2 separate regions of the Homo sapiens genome follow, and region 1 is linked to region 2. Evidence: promoter capture Hi-C in human tissues and cell types (Jung and others, 2019). All regions are on one chromosome and are shown on one strand. The core of a region is centred on a gene start or on the middle of the fragment in contact, and the rest is flanking DNA. Distances in the headings are between cores, read along the strand shown.

Evidence for each region. The method cuts DNA at HindIII sites, captures the fragments that hold promoters and counts their contacts. A contact is called where the count stands out against the background at its distance.
Region 1: a fragment that was not itself captured here is called in contact with the fragment with the promoter of SMC1B in region 2 in 1 of the 25 tissues and cell types used here (spleen).

Annotation. Positions count from the first base shown.
Region 1 is chr22:45,177,770-45,182,550 of GRCh38, reverse strand. It overlaps NUP50 (nucleoporin 50), which reads right to left. Exons shown (of 8, transcript NM_007172.4): 5 at 3,651-4,313; 6 at 1,184-1,265. All of the region lies in intron 3 of LOC105373064 (a long non-coding RNA gene), which reads left to right. Among named protein-coding and RNA genes, the nearest start is that of NUP50, 16 kb to the right of the region's middle. The HindIII fragment of the contact is 3,650 bases long and covers 1,420-4,781 here.
Region 2 is chr22:45,410,587-45,414,853 of GRCh38, reverse strand. It overlaps SMC1B (structural maintenance of chromosomes 1B), which reads left to right and starts at 1,255. Exons shown (of 25, transcript NM_148674.5): 1 at 1,255-1,395. The coding sequence starts at 1,287. RIBC2 (RIB43A domain with coiled-coils 2) reads right to left here and starts at 1,161. Exons shown (of 7, transcript NM_015653.5): 1 at 839-1,161; 2 at 451-532. The coding sequence starts at 967. RefSeq lists an enhancer at 339-1,172. The HindIII fragment of the contact is 17,180 bases long and covers 1-4,267 here.

The DNA.
Region 1 (4,781 bases), core at 1,995-4,494, 230 kb after region 2:
GTCTAACTAATAACAAAGTAATCAAATATCTTCCCAGCCTCCTGTGCTATGCATCTCCTGAGGTTATTAATACAAAACCATGGCTCATGTATTGATTTATGTATTTCTTTTGAGACAGTCTTACTCTGTGGCCCAGGCTGGAGTGCAGTGGCATGATCTTGGCTCACTGCAACCTCTGCTTCTCAGGGTTCAAGCAATTCTCATGCCTCAGCCTCCCAAACAGCTGGGATTACAGGCGTGCGCCACCACATTAGGCTAATTTTCATATTTTTAGTAGAGACGGGATTTCACCATGTTGGCCAGGTTTGTCTGGAACTCCTGACCTCAGGTGATCTGCCTGTCTCAGCCTCCCAAAGTGCTGGGATTACAGGCATGAGCCACCATGCCTGGCCTCATTTGATTCTAATTAAAAAAAAAAAAAATCTTAAAGTTGGGTCACTCCTTTATGTCATGTGAGTAATGAAATTTAAACACAGAAGAAATTGTTGGCCTCTTTTAAAAGTTCTTGAAACTAACACCTGGGAATCCCACAGGATGTGGTGACCTGTTCATGGAAAACTGCTGGCTCATTATTCGGAAATTTTTGCATTACAAAAACACATCTTTGAAAGCTTCTGAAATGGCACAGATGTTTTTTCAGCAAATATCTTTGTAAAAACTAATCTCATTTAATTGAAAGGAAGATGAAAGTTTTTATAAGTCCTCAACAGGAAGGGACGGTTACTGTGCTTAACTTTTTGACTATGAGAAAATCCAGAAAGGCCAACCAAGTCTCCAGGAAGGGATGAGAGATGCCTTCTGAGGCCAAACCTGAAATCACTGACTGACTCTGCGATTTCTTTGTTGGGGAGGAGGAAGGGGAGGGAGAAAGACACAGGGAGAGAAGACGGGATGGAATGGGATGGGATGGGATGGGGTTGGGAAGATCATGGAAGATCCTGTCTCTAAAGCACTTTAAAAGAGCTAAAGTGACAGAAAAGAGTGAGACCTGCCCACCAGGACATTTCTAGAACTGGATTTTTAAATAAACTGGCCAAGAATTCTTTCCTGTTCCACTTGAGAGCAGGCAAAGCTTGACCCCGAGACTGGAAGCTCAGTCAAGTGCCGTGAGGACATTCTCCAGCCTGAAGCATGCCACCATGCCTGCAAAACACATGCGCCAGCAGGTTGTGGGGATTCTTACTTTTTGGAGTAAAAAGCATCTTCTTCTTTTACTTCGGTAACTACTACTTTGGGTGGCTCATCATTCTCTTCTTCATCTCCACCTTTTATAAAAATGACAATAATTCAGTAAGATTCCAATCCAGAGCTTAAAGAAGTGACTGAAGTTTTGTTACGTAACACCCTAAACCTCCACCGGAGCACTCCATGTAAACTGACAGACTAAAATGCACACTTAATGGGGGGGGGGGGGGATGCCAGAAGGGAGTACCTGCAGGATTTTAACTATTTTGTGAAAAATAAGAATCCCTTTTAATGGGAACATACCTCTTAATTCTAAAATAACTTCCAATATATAGAAAACCTTAAAATGGAAAAATCTCCATGCTTATGACAGAAAAAAAAAATCAACACTCTATATGCAAATTACCCACTGGAAAATTCCATCTCGGATGAGTTTTTAACACCTTCACCCCTGAATATTCCTGTGACTACATCTACAAGTATCAGTAATAGCCAAAGATAGAAAAATACTTTTTTTTTTTTTAACAGGGGACAAGTTGTCAGAAAAATCATTCCAAAGCCCCAGTGTAAGTAATTTAAGCTTTGTCTGAATTGCCACATGGGTCACTGCTCTGGTACCAAAGGTATCCCCACTAACGGGGTCTCCCAAACACGGGAGACCTAGGCCATCATTTAAACACATGTATTAGGCTGTGTACAGTGGCTCACGCCTGTAATCCCAGCACGCTGCAGGGCCAAGGCAGGAAGATCGCTTGAGCCCAGGAGTTCAACACCAGTCTGGTCAACATGGTGAGACGCCCCCCATCTCTACAAAAAATAAAAAAGTTAACCAGGTGTGGCGGTACGTGCCTGTGGACCCAGCTACTTGGCAGACTGAAGTGGGAGGATTGCTTCACCCCAGGAGGTAGAGGCTGTAGTGAGCTATGATTGCGTCACTGCACTACTAGCCTGGGTGACAGAACGAGACCCTGTCTCAAAAAAATAAAAAACCCCACATATATAAAAGGATCCTCTTAAAGAGAACGGCAGTTGCATAAAAACTCACCAAAAAGCAATTCTAAGAAAAACAACTGTGATGCTCAGATGATTAGGTCACACGACTGTCCGTCTTATCCCTCCAATCTCCCGAGTCTTCTGATGCTTAAACTGTGATAACCAAGGGACAAGGAACAGGCGCTCACTGAGGGGCATCCTGCCTCCACTGGGACTCGATTCAAATCCCCAGTGCCTGCCTCAGGAAAGACTCCCCATTTGTTTTATTTATGGGAGGCAGAGAAGAAAGAAAAGGGGAGACCCTTATTTCACCCTGTGCCCAGAGGGCCCGTGCCTGAGGATATACTTGAAAGCAGGGCAAGGCAAAACAGTAATGGAAGTCTAGACTCCTGATAGAAAACCGTAATATTTCAGAGGCAAATTGGCAAATGCAGTTTTCTTCCTCAAGGATCAGTATGTCCATATGTCTGAGAAGTACACTTTTTCTTTTGTTGAGGCAAGGTCTGTGCTGCCCAGGCTGGAGTGCAGTGATGCAACCACGGCTCATGGCAACCTTGAACTTCTGAGCTCGAGATACTCCCACCTCAGCCTCTAGAGTAGCTGTGACTACAGGCGCCCACCACCTGGCCTGGCTAATTTTTAAAAATTTTTGTAGAGATGGGGTCTTGCTATGTTGCCCAGGCTGGTCTCAAACTCCTGGCCTCAGGTGAGCCTTCCACTTTGGCCTCCCGAAGTGCTGGGATTACAGGTGTGGGCCACCTCACCTGGCCTCACTTTCAACTGCTTAGAAGTAGGTGTCTTCACAGACATCACCTGTTCACAACCACCATGTGAGGAAGCAGCATCATGACATCACCCCACTTTTTAAGCTAACAACAGAGGTCTGGAGGGCCCAGACCTTGTGCCTTGTCTGGGGCACTGACGATACACACAGGAAACATCACTTAGACACCACTGCCACGCTCTGGAAAGGAGGCGCCTCCAAACCCACAGGAGGAAAACAATGTTGATTTCTTCTCTATGGCTATGAAAAGTCTACATTTGTAATGTATAGTCAAGTACTGTTTTGCCACATGACTTTATTTACAGTGAGATCTCCTAAGTACAAATCAATTCAGGGGACATTCATGATGAACTTGATGAACTTTTCCAAAAACACAATTTTCAAAAAACGTCTTTAATTCACTTGTTTTTTATATGCTAAACCATGTGTGTTTGAGACTTTTCAAAGTCAGGTGTTTTCAAATTCATTTTATTTTTAATCCTTATAAACAACCCTACAAAAGTCTTACTCTTTTATAAAGCAGGAATCTGAAACTCAGAGAAGCTGATTAGCTCTGTCTGAGATCACACATGGAGAGAACAACGTCTCAATGTGAATCCAGACTCATATTTGGAATCAAAGTCTCTGGGTTTCCCAAGAAACAAGAATCTTATGCAAACCTCGACTCAACGACAAAGCTGGTACTTACCTTTGCATTCACCACTGTCACCTTCTGCTTGGCCCTCCAATGGTTTAGTGGGAAATGGTGAAGAGACTGGTTTACTCTGGGTAGTATCTTTGCCAAATAAACTGGAGTTTCCAGGGGAGAAAGAAAATCCAGTCAGGGGGACAGAGCTTAATGAGCCCAAAACAGAGCTATCAACTTTCTTGCCGAAATTAAATGAGGCACTTGTCGCTCCTAGTGATGATGGGTCCGTTTTCTTTTCAGATGCCACCTCCATCTTCTTGTCAGGTGTATCTTCAGTTTTGTTGCCATGAAACAAAAACGTTGACTCTTGCTGTAATTTTGTTGAGCCAAAAAGGGAAGGAGACTGTGTTTCAGCTGCCACTTTGTTAGATTCACTTTCAGAATTCCTGCCACTGTTCCCGTGTTGCTGTTCAATGTTTGCTAAATATTTCTCATAGTCTTTAAAGATAGGTGTCAGATCACAGAGGGGGTTTGTATTCACGTGCTTCACTATCCAATCCCGCACGGAGCAGTTCAAGGCGGCCAACTGCTTGTGATAGGCATTTCCGACACAAGCTTTACTGGAAGCAAGGCCAGAGGAGGAGGGCTGCTGACTGTCCCCATTAGTTTTGGGATTTGAAACTTTATCAACCAAGGTGGTAGGGCCATTTGCAGCAAGAGAACCTATAGAAAGTTAATAATTGAACCATTTATTTAGCCTAATTTGATTAAATCATCTAGATTTTTTTGCCACTCTGCCTTCATACTTTCTGCTTTTACTGTATCTCCCCCCACACCAAGACAGTCTTGCTCTGTCACCCAGGCTGGAGTGCCGTGGCACGATCTTGGCTCACTGCAACCTCTGCCTCCCAGGTTCAAGCGATTCTCCTGCCTCAACCTCCCGAGTAGGTGGGATTACGGGCACCCGCCACCACACCCGGCTAATTTTTGTATTTTAGTAGAGATGGGGTTTCGTCATGTTGGCCAGGCTGGTCTTGAACTCCTGACCTCATGATCTGCCCGCCTCGGACTCCCAAAGTGCTGGGATTACAAGCGTGAGCCACTGCGCCCGACCTACTGTGCCCTATTTTTGTGACCGCTCAAAAAGTATGTGTTCAAGGAGTAGAATTTAGTAACCAGTTATCAGTAAAG
Region 2 (4,267 bases), core at 6-2,505:
TGTGTTTAAGGCTTTTCCTATCCAGTTTTTTAAGAAAATGAAGGAAAACATACATATACCCTTAAAATCTATTTCTTATAATCCACATTCGAATTCAATAGCTGTTTTTAAGAGAAGAATCAGTGCATTAAGTTAACTGGGCACAAGAAATTGTGAAATTTAAAAGGAAGAAGAGTGTGAAAATGACAACTTTTTATATATGTGAAGAAAGGAGGGCTGGGTACCGTGGCTCATGCCTGTAGTTCCAGCACTTTGGGAGACTGACGTGGGAGGATCACTTGCACGCAGGAGTTCCAGACCAGCCTGGGCAACATAGTGAGACCCTATCTCTATTAAATAAAAAAAATAAAAAATAAAAAAAAAAAGGCGGGGCAGGGGGACGGTGGGGAAGACTGGAGTCTAAAGCCACACAATCCTAAACCAATAGATAAGCATTCAGGAAATGCTCACCAAAGGTTTCATGTCTAGCTTTTTCAGTAGCTTCTTTTATCTTCTGGTCATGAACTTGAACATCCCAGGCTTCAGTGTCTCCCTATAAATGGAAAAACAGAGGAGAAGGGTTAGAGCCAGATCATTTTATTCAGTAATAACAATCCTACTTATTATTATTTTTAATCTCTGCCCCACTGTAAACGAGTTGTAGAAAATCTGGCTCAGGGGAGGAGAACCGTTGGTGACTCCAGGCGAGCTCGAGAGGGAGCATTATTGGCCCTGCAGGAGGCCGTTTGCTGCCTCCTGGCTCAGATGTTTCATCCTAGAACTCATCTCCTTTCCCCCTCCACGCAGCCCCTCGCCCGCATCTGCCGCTCTAACCCCGTCCCGGCCCCTGCCCTTTCACCCCAATTATCCTGTTTCTGGCGTTGAAGACCCGCTTCTGCCTGCACAGCTCCGCGTGCCTCCTCTTTGCCAGGTTGGCGTCCTGCCGCAAGTCCCTGGGCAGCGCCACCGCCATGGTCTGGGAACCCATGGAAAGCCTAAGGGGTTTTTAGAACACGCAGGATCAGGAGAACAGGCGACGAAAATAAGGAAGCTGTAGCGCAGGCAAGGTCGGCTCCTTCGGTCGGGCAGGGGAAAGACAAGCCTTTAGCGCAGTTTTCCGTCGGGCTCCCAGTGACGCCGCAGAGGTACAGACGCTCCCGCTCTCTCGGAAATGTCAACAACTCGTTGCTAAGGAACGGCTCCGCGCTTGCCGCGTCTCGCTCTCTTCTCGCGACACTTGGCGAATCCCTTCCCGCGCTTTTTCCGCGGGCGCTTGATAACGCGGGTGAGGCGTGGAGGGCGGCGCCATGGCCCACCTGGAGCTGCTGCTTGTGGAAAATTTCAAGTCGTGGCGGGGCCGCCAGGTCATTGGCCCCTTCCGGAGGTTCACCTGCATCATCGGCCCCAACGGCTCTGGTAACTGAGCAGCTCAGGGCGCCACCGGAGCGCCTCCGCCGTCCCAGGCGTCCAGGCCACACGTGGCCTGTGGGGTGTGGGCGTCTGCCGCGGGCGCCTGGCCGGCCTTCCCCTTCCAGTCCCGGAGCCTGACCGCGACCGGATCCCGGCCTGGCCCTGGCCCAGCCCCTGCCCATCACCCCACCTCAGCCCCGGTCCTCGCCGTCCACCTCAGGGGTCCCGACCCTTGTCCCTCCGCCCCACCTCGGAGGTCCTGACCCTTCCACTCGGCCCCGCCTCGGGCCCCGCTCTCGCCCTCCACCTCCTGGCTCCCGACCCTCCTCCGACACCCTGAGGGACCCCACCCCACCTCAGCTCCGGCCCTCGCCCTTCATCTCAGGGGCTCCCAACCCTCGCCCCCCACCCTGGGGGTCCTGACGCTTCCTCTCCGCCCCGGTCCCGCCCTGGGCCCTGTTCTCTGCCCTCACTCCTGCTTCGGGGACTGCTCTTGCCCTTGGCCCTGGTCACTCGCGTCCCTTTTCCCTTCTCATCCGAAGTTGAAGTGAGAGGGAGCTGTCGAGGAGGTAATGGGTTCCAAGCAGCCAGAACCACCATTTGGATCCAAGGGAGCTTTGACCCAGGAATGTAGTGATGATGACCCAGTTTACTGAGCTTTTCCTAAGTTCCTGGCGACACCGTCTTTGGTTAGCCATGGCGCATGGCTGCTCTCCCCATTTTATAGTTGGGGAAACTGAGGTCTGGAGAGGCCAGAGGACCTGCGGAGGTCTCTACTAATAATACCAAAATTAGCTGGGTGTGGTGGCACACGCCTGTAATCCCAACTACTCTGGAGGCTGAGGCGGGAGAATCGCTTGAACCTGGGAGGTGGAAGTTGCAGTGAGCCAAGGACACGCCATTGCACTCCAGCCTGGCAACACAGTGCGACTCTCGTCTCAAAAAAAAAAAAAAAAAAAAAAAAAAGGCTGGGCGCGGTGGCTCACACCTGTAATTCCAGCACTTTAGGAGGCCGAGGCGGGTGGATCATGAGATCAGGAGTTCGAGACCAGCCTGACCAACATGGTGAAGCCCTGTCTCTACTAAAAATACAAAAATTAATCGGGTGTGGTGACATGCACCTGTAATCCCGGCTACTGAGGAGGCTGAGGCAGGAGAATCGCTTGAACCCGGGAGGCAGAGGTTGCAGTGAGCCAAGATAGCACCACCGCACTCCAGCCTGGGTAACAAGAGCGAGACTTCGACTCTAAAATAAAATAAAATAAGATAAATATAAAATAAAATTGGCCGGGCGCCGTGGCTCATGCCTATAATCCCAGCACTTTGGGAGGCCGAGGCGGGCGGATCACCTTAGGTCAGGAGTTAGAAACCAGCCTGGCCAACATAGTGAAACCCCTGTCTGTACTAAAAATACAAAAATTAGCTGGGGGTGGTGTCACGTGCCTGTAATACCAGCTACTTGGGAGACTGAGGCAGGAGAATCACTTGAACCCGGGAGGCGGAGGTTGCAGTGAGCCAAGACTGTGCCACTGCATTCCAGCCTGGGCGACAGAGCAAGACTCTGTCTCAACAAAAAAATAAGGCCTGACATGGTGGCCCACACCTGTAATTCCATCACTTTGGGAGGCTGAGGCAGGCAGATCACTGGAGGTAGGGGTTCAAGACCAGCCTGGCCAACATGATGAAACCCCATCTGTACTAAAAATACAAAAAAGCCTGGCGTGGTGGCGCACGCCTGTAGTCCCAGCTACTCAGGGGACTGAGGCAGGAGAATCGCTTGAACCTGGGAGGCAGAGGCTGCAGTGAGCTGACATCACGCCACTGCACTCCAGCCTGGGCAACAACAGAACAAGACTGCATCTCAAAAATAAATAAGTAAAAATAAATAAATAAATAAAATGCACCGTTCAGTGGTTTTTAGTATATTCAAAAGTTGTGCAACCATCATCACCATCTACTTCCAAAACATTTTCATTGCCCCCAAAGAAACCTTGTACTCATTAGCAATCACTCCCTGTTATTTCCTCTCCACCTAGCTCCTGGTATCTACTAATTCACTTTCTGTCTCTATGGATTTACCTATTTGGGACATTTCGTATAAATAGAATCAGACAATATATGGCCTTTTGTGTCTGACTTCTTTCACTTAGCATAATGTTTTTCAGATTCATCTATGTTGCTCCTTGTATTAGTACTTATTTCCTTCTTATTTTCAAATAATATTTCACTGTATAGATATACTACATTTTGTTTATCCATCAGTTGATAGTTTGGGTTGTTGCCACTTTGTGGTATGTTATGCTGCCTTGACTCTCTTGACAGACTATAACCTTTATTAGGCAGGGACAATATTAATGAAATTTAATGGAATAAATGGATTTGGATGAGAAGTATTTATTTTAGGCAGATTTAAATAAGGATTGACTTATTGATTTTAAAAGTTTATGTTTAGTTTTGTTACTTAATACTTAAATTACTTAATAATTTAATTCAGTGAATGTTTATCTTGTCCATATGCACTGTCTTACAATAGCCCTCAATGTGCAGATTATCCATTAACCCAAAAAAGCCGTTTCATACCTGTTAGTTGACTGAGACTCAGCTAAATAAATTTGCAGCAATTTATTTCTAGTTCTTTTTAGAAAGACCCTAAACCTCTAAAACTAAGCCATATTTCCGGTGGCTGATAGTATTCCTTTGCTTTGTTTATGTTACTTTCCTAGTTTTGGCATTGAAAATTAATTAATTATTTCTTTTGTCTTGAGATGGAGTCTTGCTCTCTTGCCCAGGCTGGAGTACAGTGGTGTAATATCAGCTCACTGCAACCTCTGCCTTCTGGATCCAAGTGATTCTTCTGCCTCAGCCTCCCGAGTAGCTG